Regions from separate parts of the Homo sapiens genome. Here region 1 is linked to region 2. The links are contacts of gene promoters, found by promoter capture Hi-C in human tissues and cell types (Jung and others, 2019). All regions are on one chromosome and are shown on one strand. The core of a region is centred on a gene start or on the middle of the fragment in contact, and the rest is flanking DNA. Distances in the headings are between cores, read along the strand shown. Region 1 overlaps TGFA (transforming growth factor alpha). Region 2 holds the start of ANKRD53 (ankyrin repeat domain 53).

Region 1 (4,031 bases), core at 845-3,344, 430 kb after region 2:
AAGTGGGCATAACTTCTGAGTCATCAATTTCACTTTTTGATATATCCTACATAAATACATGTTGAAATGTGCAAAGAAAAATGTAGAAGATGGTGACTATTGAATTGTTTGTAAGAACAAGTTGCTAGTACCACACTGCTATAATTATTTAAGGAGATTTCTTAAATCCTTTATTTTTCTATGTCAGTACAATGATTTACTGTGTAGCTATTTAAAAGATTTAGCTATTAAAAGGTTTTCTGGCCAAGCAAGGTGGCTCACACCTGTAATCCCAGCCCTTTGGGAGGTTGAGGCAGGCAGATCACTTGAGCCCAGGAGTTCAAGACCAGCCTGGGCAACATAGTGAGACTCCCACCATGGCTGGATCAAAGATGGCCAGATAGGAACAGCTTTGTCTGCAGCTCCCAGTGAGATACTCCCCACAATCTCTTCAAAAAAAAAAGAAAAAAGAAAAATTAGCGGGGTGTGGTAGTGCATGCCTGTAGTCCCAGCTACTTGGGAGGCTGAGGCTGGTGGATCACTGGAGCCTGGGAGGTCGAGGTTGCAGTGAGTCATGATTGAGCCACTGCACTCCAGCCTGGCCCTGTCTCAAAACAAAAATAATAATAATAAGGTTTTTCATTGGGATGGAGAGAGGGAGCAAGTGTTGAAAAACTGTCTATTGGGCACCATTCTTACTATCTGGGTAACAATGAATTGTACCCCAAATCACAGAATTACACGATATACCCATGTAACAAACCTGCACATGTACCCCTGAATCTAAAAATAAAAGTTGACATTAAAAATAAAAAAAAGTAATGAAGGGTTTTTGCAATACACTAAATTTAAAAGGGCAGGTTCCAGTGTCTTGCTCTGAATTGGTTAATTTTTTATAAGAAGCATATATTAAATCTATAGTGCCTAAAGTCAAAGAAGTAATACAACAGGCATTCTTGTACAGAAATGTTTGGCACATCCTGTAATATTTAGAATAAATTTCTAGAAATTGGCCTTTTCTCTCACTTTCTTGATCTTCCATAACACTGTAAGTTAGATTTAACATTTGCCAAGTTGATTGGAGAAAAATGATCTCAGCCCAGTTTTCATATGTAGTATTTGTTAGAGTCAGTAAATTTGTTGGACATTTGTCATTTTGCTACTTGCATCTTAACCTTTAAAAATTTTTTTCTTATTGATTGATCATCCTTTTCTTGGAGTTTTATAATAACACTTTATATGAGAAGAATAGTAATCCTTTTTCTGTCATACATTGCAAGTATTTTCCCCCATTTATTTTTTATCTTTTACTGTTTTGTTTATGGTATTTTGACATACCTAAGGTTTTTATTTTTATGTAGCAGAAACTATGCATCTTTCCCCATTAGTGTTCTACCTTTACTTATATATTTAGGAAAACCTTTTCTTATTCCAAGATATGCCAATATTTTCTTACTTTTTTTCTTGTAATTCTTTAGTGATCTCATATATTATGTTGAAATATTTTATCTATAATTTTTCTAGGGTATGTTGTGAGATGTAACTCATTTTCATTTTTTGAAACAGTTAACCAGTTAGTAGTCTAAAATGCTATTTATGGAATAATCTACCCTTCCCCCTGTGGTTTGAAATTCCATTTTCATCATATGACAAATTCTGTTTTTTTAAAACAACTAAAACCGGTTCTTTGTAAAATTATAAGATCTGGGGCATACTGTGGCATAGGAACTAAGCGCACAAGACTTGGACTCTCACAGACTCTGGATTCAAATCTCAGTTCTGCCCTACTAGCAGTTTAAAATGAGACACAATATGCTTTCTTCTTCTTCCTCTTCTTCTTCTTCTTCTTTTTCTTCGTCTTCATCTTCGTCTTCTTTGTCTTCTTCATCTCCTTCGTCTCCTTCGTGTCCTTCATCTCCTTGGTCTCCTTCCAACATTTTTACAATTTTTAATTCTTGTGGGTACATAGTAGGTATATATATTTATAGGGTACCTGAGATATTTTTATATATAGGCATGCAATGTGTAATAAACACATCAAGGTAAATGGAGCATCTGTGACCTCAAGCATTTATCCCTTGTGATACAAACAATCCAATTATACTCTTTTAGCTATTTTAAAATATAAAATTAAATTATTATTGACTATAGTCCTCTGTTCTGCTATCAAATACTAGATCTTATTCTTTCTAACTATTTTTTGTACGCTTTAACCACCTCCACTCCCACACCACCCACTACCCTTTCTAGCCTCTGGTAACCATCATTCGACTCTGTCTCCATGAGTTCAATTGTTTTCATTTTCAGCTGCCATGAATAAGTGAGAACATGTGAAGTTTATCTTTCTGTGCCTGGTTTATTTTCATATGCTAAATTCTTAAGTATTGGAATCTGTTTATGGAATATCAGTTTGGTTCCATTATTTGGTATTTTTGCCCTTATTGTGAATGTGTTCACTCATTTATTCTGCAAATAATTACCAAGCACCTGTTCTGTGCTGGGACCACTTCTAGATGCTAGGGATTCAGCCAAGAATGAGGCAGAGTTCCAGTTCTCGTGGACCTGTGTTCTAATGTGGGAGACATTTCCCCCTGCTATCTATTCTAATTGGTTATTGCTGGTATATAAAAGCTTTTTTTTCATATTTATATCTTAACGAGTTTTGTTAATTCTAATAGTCCTTCAGTTGATCCTCTTAGGTTTTCTAGGTAGATGATCATTTAAGCTTGAATAATAATAACTTTGCCTCCTTCCTTTTAATATTTTAATCTCTTATTAAATATCTTATTTTAATCTTTTATTAAATATTAAATTATTAATATTTGAATCTCTTCTTACTTATAGCATAGACCAGGACTTTAAGAGCATGGTTTCTTAAAAGGCAGTAGATATCCTTGTATTTTTCATGGCTTTACGGGTAATGTTTGCGCATTTAACACTTAAGTACGAAGCTGACTTTTTGGTTATATATTATATATACACATATATTCTTTATGATGTTAAAATATGTTTCTCATCATAATTTACTAAAAGAGTTGGCATTTTTTGTTTTGTTAGTTTTTTAAAGCAGGAGGCAATAATGTGTGGGTTTTTTCCCTCAAATGTTTTGAGGACATTGATTGACTCAATTATGTTAAAGCCACCTTTAAATTCTTGAAATAAACTCTTCTTGGCTATGTGGTATTATTCTCTGTATAAACTGCTAGATCTGCTCCATTATGAAGTATTTGGGGCTTTGTTTTCTTTTTTAGATTTTGATATCAATATTATGTCAGCTTTATAAAATAAATTTTAAAGCATCTCATCTTTTTTGTGTTCTGCTAGTTGAAGTATCAGGATAACCAACAATTTTGTGAAGGCTTGAAAGAAATTGCTAAGAAGCTTCTGGCCTGGTCCCTTTTTAGTGGTCAGTTCAAATTTTCTACTTTTTGAGTCAGTTTTGGTAATTACATATTTTCCTCACAATCTATTCAACTCAAATTTCTAAAATTTTAGCATAGATTTATAAATGAACTCCTTTTAATTAAAGAAACATTTTTTGTATCTGTGGCCCCAGTTAATGTAGTCTTTTTTTTTCTTTTTTTTTTTTTTGAGACAGAGTCTCGCTCTGTCGCCCAGGCTAGGGTGAAGTGGCGCAATCTCAGCTCACTGCAACCTCTGCCTCCTGAGTTCAAGCAATTCTCGTGCCTCAGCCTCCCAAGTAGCTGGGATTACAGCTGTGTACCATGCCCAGCTAATTTTTGTATTCTTTAGTAGAGATGGGGTTTTGCCATGTTGGCCAGGCTGGTCTCAAACTCCTGGACTCAAGAGATCCACCTGCCTCAGCCTCCCAAAGTGCTGGGATTACGGGCATGAGCCACCATGCCAGGCCTAGTAATATGACTTTAACAAATGTGAAATAAAGTAAGTATCAAGGCCCCCAAGATAAGACATATTTTAAAGTTTGTTTTTCTTGATGATATTTAGAGGGAAAAAACCCTTCTTTTATTTTTAAGTTTTCTTTTTATTTTTTTTAGGTGGAGTTTCACTCTTGTTACCCAGGCTGGAGTGCA
Region 2 (3,438 bases), core at 468-2,967:
GGCCAATCTTTTTTTTTTTTTTTTTTTTGTTGAGACGGAGTCTCGCTCTTGTTGCCCGGGCTGAAGTGCAATGGCACCATCTCAGCTCACCGCAACCTCCATCTCCTGGGTTCAAGCAATTCTCCTGCCTCAGCCTCCCGAATAGCTGGGATTACAGGCATGCGCCACCATGCCCTGCTAATTTTGTATTTTTAGTAGAGATGGGGTTTCTCCATGTTGGTCATGCTGGTGTTGAACTCCTGACCTCAGGTGATCCGCCTGCCTCGGCCTTCCAAAGTGTTGGGATTATAGGCATGAGCCACCATGCCCGGCTAAAGCCCAGTCTCTTTATTACACCATGTGGATTCCTGACTGCTTTATGTGGGACCCAATCCTTGTCACCTCCAGCAACCCCTCTGCTTGTCCTGCATGGATTTGCCTGCCTGGAAGTAGGGCTGTGCCCGTGCCTGTGCCCGAAGCCTCCCTCCTGAAGCAGGCTGGACTCACGCATTGAGGTCTGCGCCTTTCTCCAGCAGGTAGTAGATGCAGGGGAGGGCCACGGTGGTGTTGTCCCTGTGGATGACGAGGTGCAGGGGTGTCTGGCTATTGTTGGTCAGCAGGTCCACGGGAAACTTGTACTCCTCTACCAGGACCTGCAGGCATGCAAGCTTGCCCCATTGGGCGGCGAAGTGGATGGCAGTGAAGCCCTGTGAGGTTCAGAGCAGGCAGGAGGAGGCTGAGTGGGACTGAGGTCCCAGGGTCCACAATTTATATAAATTTATTGGGGTTACCTTCACTTTCTTCCCTGTGTCCCCAGGAATGCTCACACCCTTTTGCTAATTAACCAGTGTGTGTTCATCAGCCCACCCAACCTCCCTGCCCCCAAAATGGTCCTTCCACAGCCAGAAGATGAGTTAAATTAGGAAGATCTACCCAGAAAAGGATATCTCTTCTCCAGGTGACCACTCCGAGCAGCGTAGCGGGAGAGGGACCTCGGTCTTTGCCCCAACACTCAAGACCTTACCTTGTCGTCGGTGGGGATTTCCCTGAGGCTCTGGTTCAGACAGAATCGCAGCCATTCCACGTTGCCCACAGCCGCTGCGAACAGCTGGTAGTAGCTCCCGATCGCCGTCTGGTCGATTGCCGTCTGGTCGGACTCCTTGCTGGGGCTGGGGTCAGCGCGGGGCGGGGTGAGCGAGGCAGGGCGGCGCGGCCTGGCGAGGGCAGTCGCCTGCGCACTGAGGTGGTCTGCGAGGTCGGGCAGGGGCTGGCTGGAGGGCGGGGCAGTGGGGAAGCGACTCTGGGCCACGGCCCGGGCACCTCTCGGGAGGCGATCCCTGGCCCCCGCCTGGCTGGTGGGCGGGGCAGTGGGGAAGCGACTCTGGGCCACGGCCTAGGCACCTCTCGGGAGGCGATCCCTGGCCCCAGCCTGTCTCTGCTGGCTTCTCGGGCCGCAGCCTCCGCCCCCGCCCGCTCCAGGCCCTGCCCACCAGGGAGGCGCTGGGCCGGGTTCTCGCTCCCTGCAGCCGGGACACCTTCTCCCGCTACCCACCTGGGCTGCTTGGACTCCGCGTCAGTCCAGGTGGCCTTCAAGGAGACTTTGTTCGCCTGCTGCATGGAGCCACTTGGAGTTGGCTGCGGCCGAGCACCTCTCCCTTCTCCCCTTTCTGAGTGCCAGCTTCCGGAGCCCGCCCGCCGAGCGGTGCTGCCCGCGGAGGCCATCGCGGGGCTGGAACTCGGACCCGGGCCGGGCGGGCTACTCACACACCCGCCGGCGCCCCGCCCCCGGGGGCCACTCCTTGCCAGCTGGCCGCGGTTTCCCGGCCCCTTCCAGGCCGCTAGGGTTCGGCTGCCTCTCTAGCTGGAGGGGCAGAGCCCGGGGGCCTCCGGGGACCCTGCCCGCCTGCCGCTCCCCACCCGCCGCTCTGCTCCCGGTCTGAGCCAAAACCCCCACTCAACCTCCCAGTCCTGCTGCCCGGGAAACTCAGCATCAAACACACAAACAACAAAGACACTTGGCTTTTGTTTCCGATTATCAAACTAATAAGTAGAAAACAGAAATATTCAATGTGGAAATTAAAAATTACCATCCCACCACGCACAGAAATCATGGTTTATTGCAATATATATGCATATCATGACTATTTTTTGTATCTCTTTTCGTTTATTAATAGCATTATATTACGAGCTAGCGCCCATTGTCACTCCACATACTAAACGTACATTATGACGCAACCAGAGCCCAGCGTCATAATGGATGTGCCATTGTTTCACATGTGCTGCCAAGAACGAAATGGCTCAACTCTGGTTGTTTTCTTAGAATGGATTCCTGGGAGTCGAATCACTAGGTGAAAGGGAATGAATATTTTTCAGCTGTCAATATGGGCTTGCAGACTGCCTTCCAGGAAGGTTATTATTCACTTCCACTTCCACCTGCAGTGAAGCGGGTGCGCTGCACATCAGCAGTGTGGCTTTTGGCAAGTTATCTGACTTAGTTTCTGTGGGCGGCAAGCCACCCAGGTGCCAAGGCAAGAGACCGAGGGCACAAGCTGTTCCAGTATAATAAAATATACAAAACAACAAGAGTTATACTAGATCTAGATCTAGATCATAGACGTGATTATATATGAATATCGTTAATCATTAGTTTGTAGCAATTACTCTTTATTCCAATATTGTAATAATCCTCGCTCTATAATCATAACCTAGGAAAAACCAGGCCATAGAGAGATAGGAACCAAAGGGACATAGTGAGAAGTGACCAGAAGACAAGAGTGCGAGCCTTCTGTTATGTCCGGACAGGGCCACCAGAGGGCTCCTTGATCTAGCGGTAATGCCAGCGTCTGGGAAGACGCCGGTTACCAAGTGGACCGTGGTCTGGCGGACCCTGGTCTGGCGGACCGTGGTCTAGCGGTAGCATCAATGCAAAGGAAAAGCACCCGCTACTTAGCAGACCGGGAAAGGGAGTCTCCCTTTCCCAGGGGGAGTTTAGAGAAGACTTTACTCCACCACCTTTTGTGGAGGGCTTGACATCAGTCAGGCCCGCCCACAGTTATCTGGAGGCCTAAACATCTCCCTGTGACGCTGTACTTCAGCGGTCACACTCCTGTTTCACTTTCATGTTCCATCCTGTACATCTGGCTCTGCCTTCTAGATAGCAGTAGCAAAATTAGTGAAAGTACTAAAAGTCTCTGATACACAGAAATAATGGCGTAAGCTGTCCTCTCTCTCTCTCTCTCTCTCCCTCCCCCTGTCCCCGCCCCCACCCCCACCCACCTCGGCTGCCAAGCAGGGAAGGGCCCCCTGTCCGGTGGACACGTGACTCACGTGACCTTATCAATCATTGGAGATGACTCACACTCCTTACCCTGCCCCTTTTGCCTTGTATCCAATAAATAACAGCACAGCCAGGCATTCGGGGCCACTACCGATCTCTGCCCTCTTGGTGGTAGTGGTCCC

What was found. Contacts are between HindIII fragments. The study calls those that stand out against the background at their distance.
Region 1: a fragment that was not itself captured here is called in contact with the fragment with the promoter of ANKRD53 in region 2 in 1 of the 25 tissues and cell types used here (hippocampus).

Annotation. Positions count from the first base shown.
Region 1 is chr2:70,543,065-70,547,095 of GRCh38, reverse strand. All of the region lies in intron 1 of TGFA (transforming growth factor alpha), which reads left to right. Among named protein-coding and RNA genes, the nearest start is that of TGFA, 8.7 kb to the left of the region's middle. The HindIII fragment of the contact is 3,627 bases long and covers 281-3,907 here.
Region 2 is chr2:70,976,909-70,980,346 of GRCh38, reverse strand. ANKRD53 (ankyrin repeat domain 53) reads right to left here and starts at 1,717. Exons shown (of 6, transcript NM_001115116.2): 1 at 1,532-1,717; 2 at 1,004-1,250; 3 at 487-686. The coding sequence starts at 1,701. All of the region lies in intron 1 of LOC105374795 (a long non-coding RNA gene), which reads left to right. RefSeq lists silencers at 1,281-1,340, 1,701-1,790 and an enhancer at 2,818-3,087. The HindIII fragment of the contact is 11,444 bases long and covers 1-3,438 here.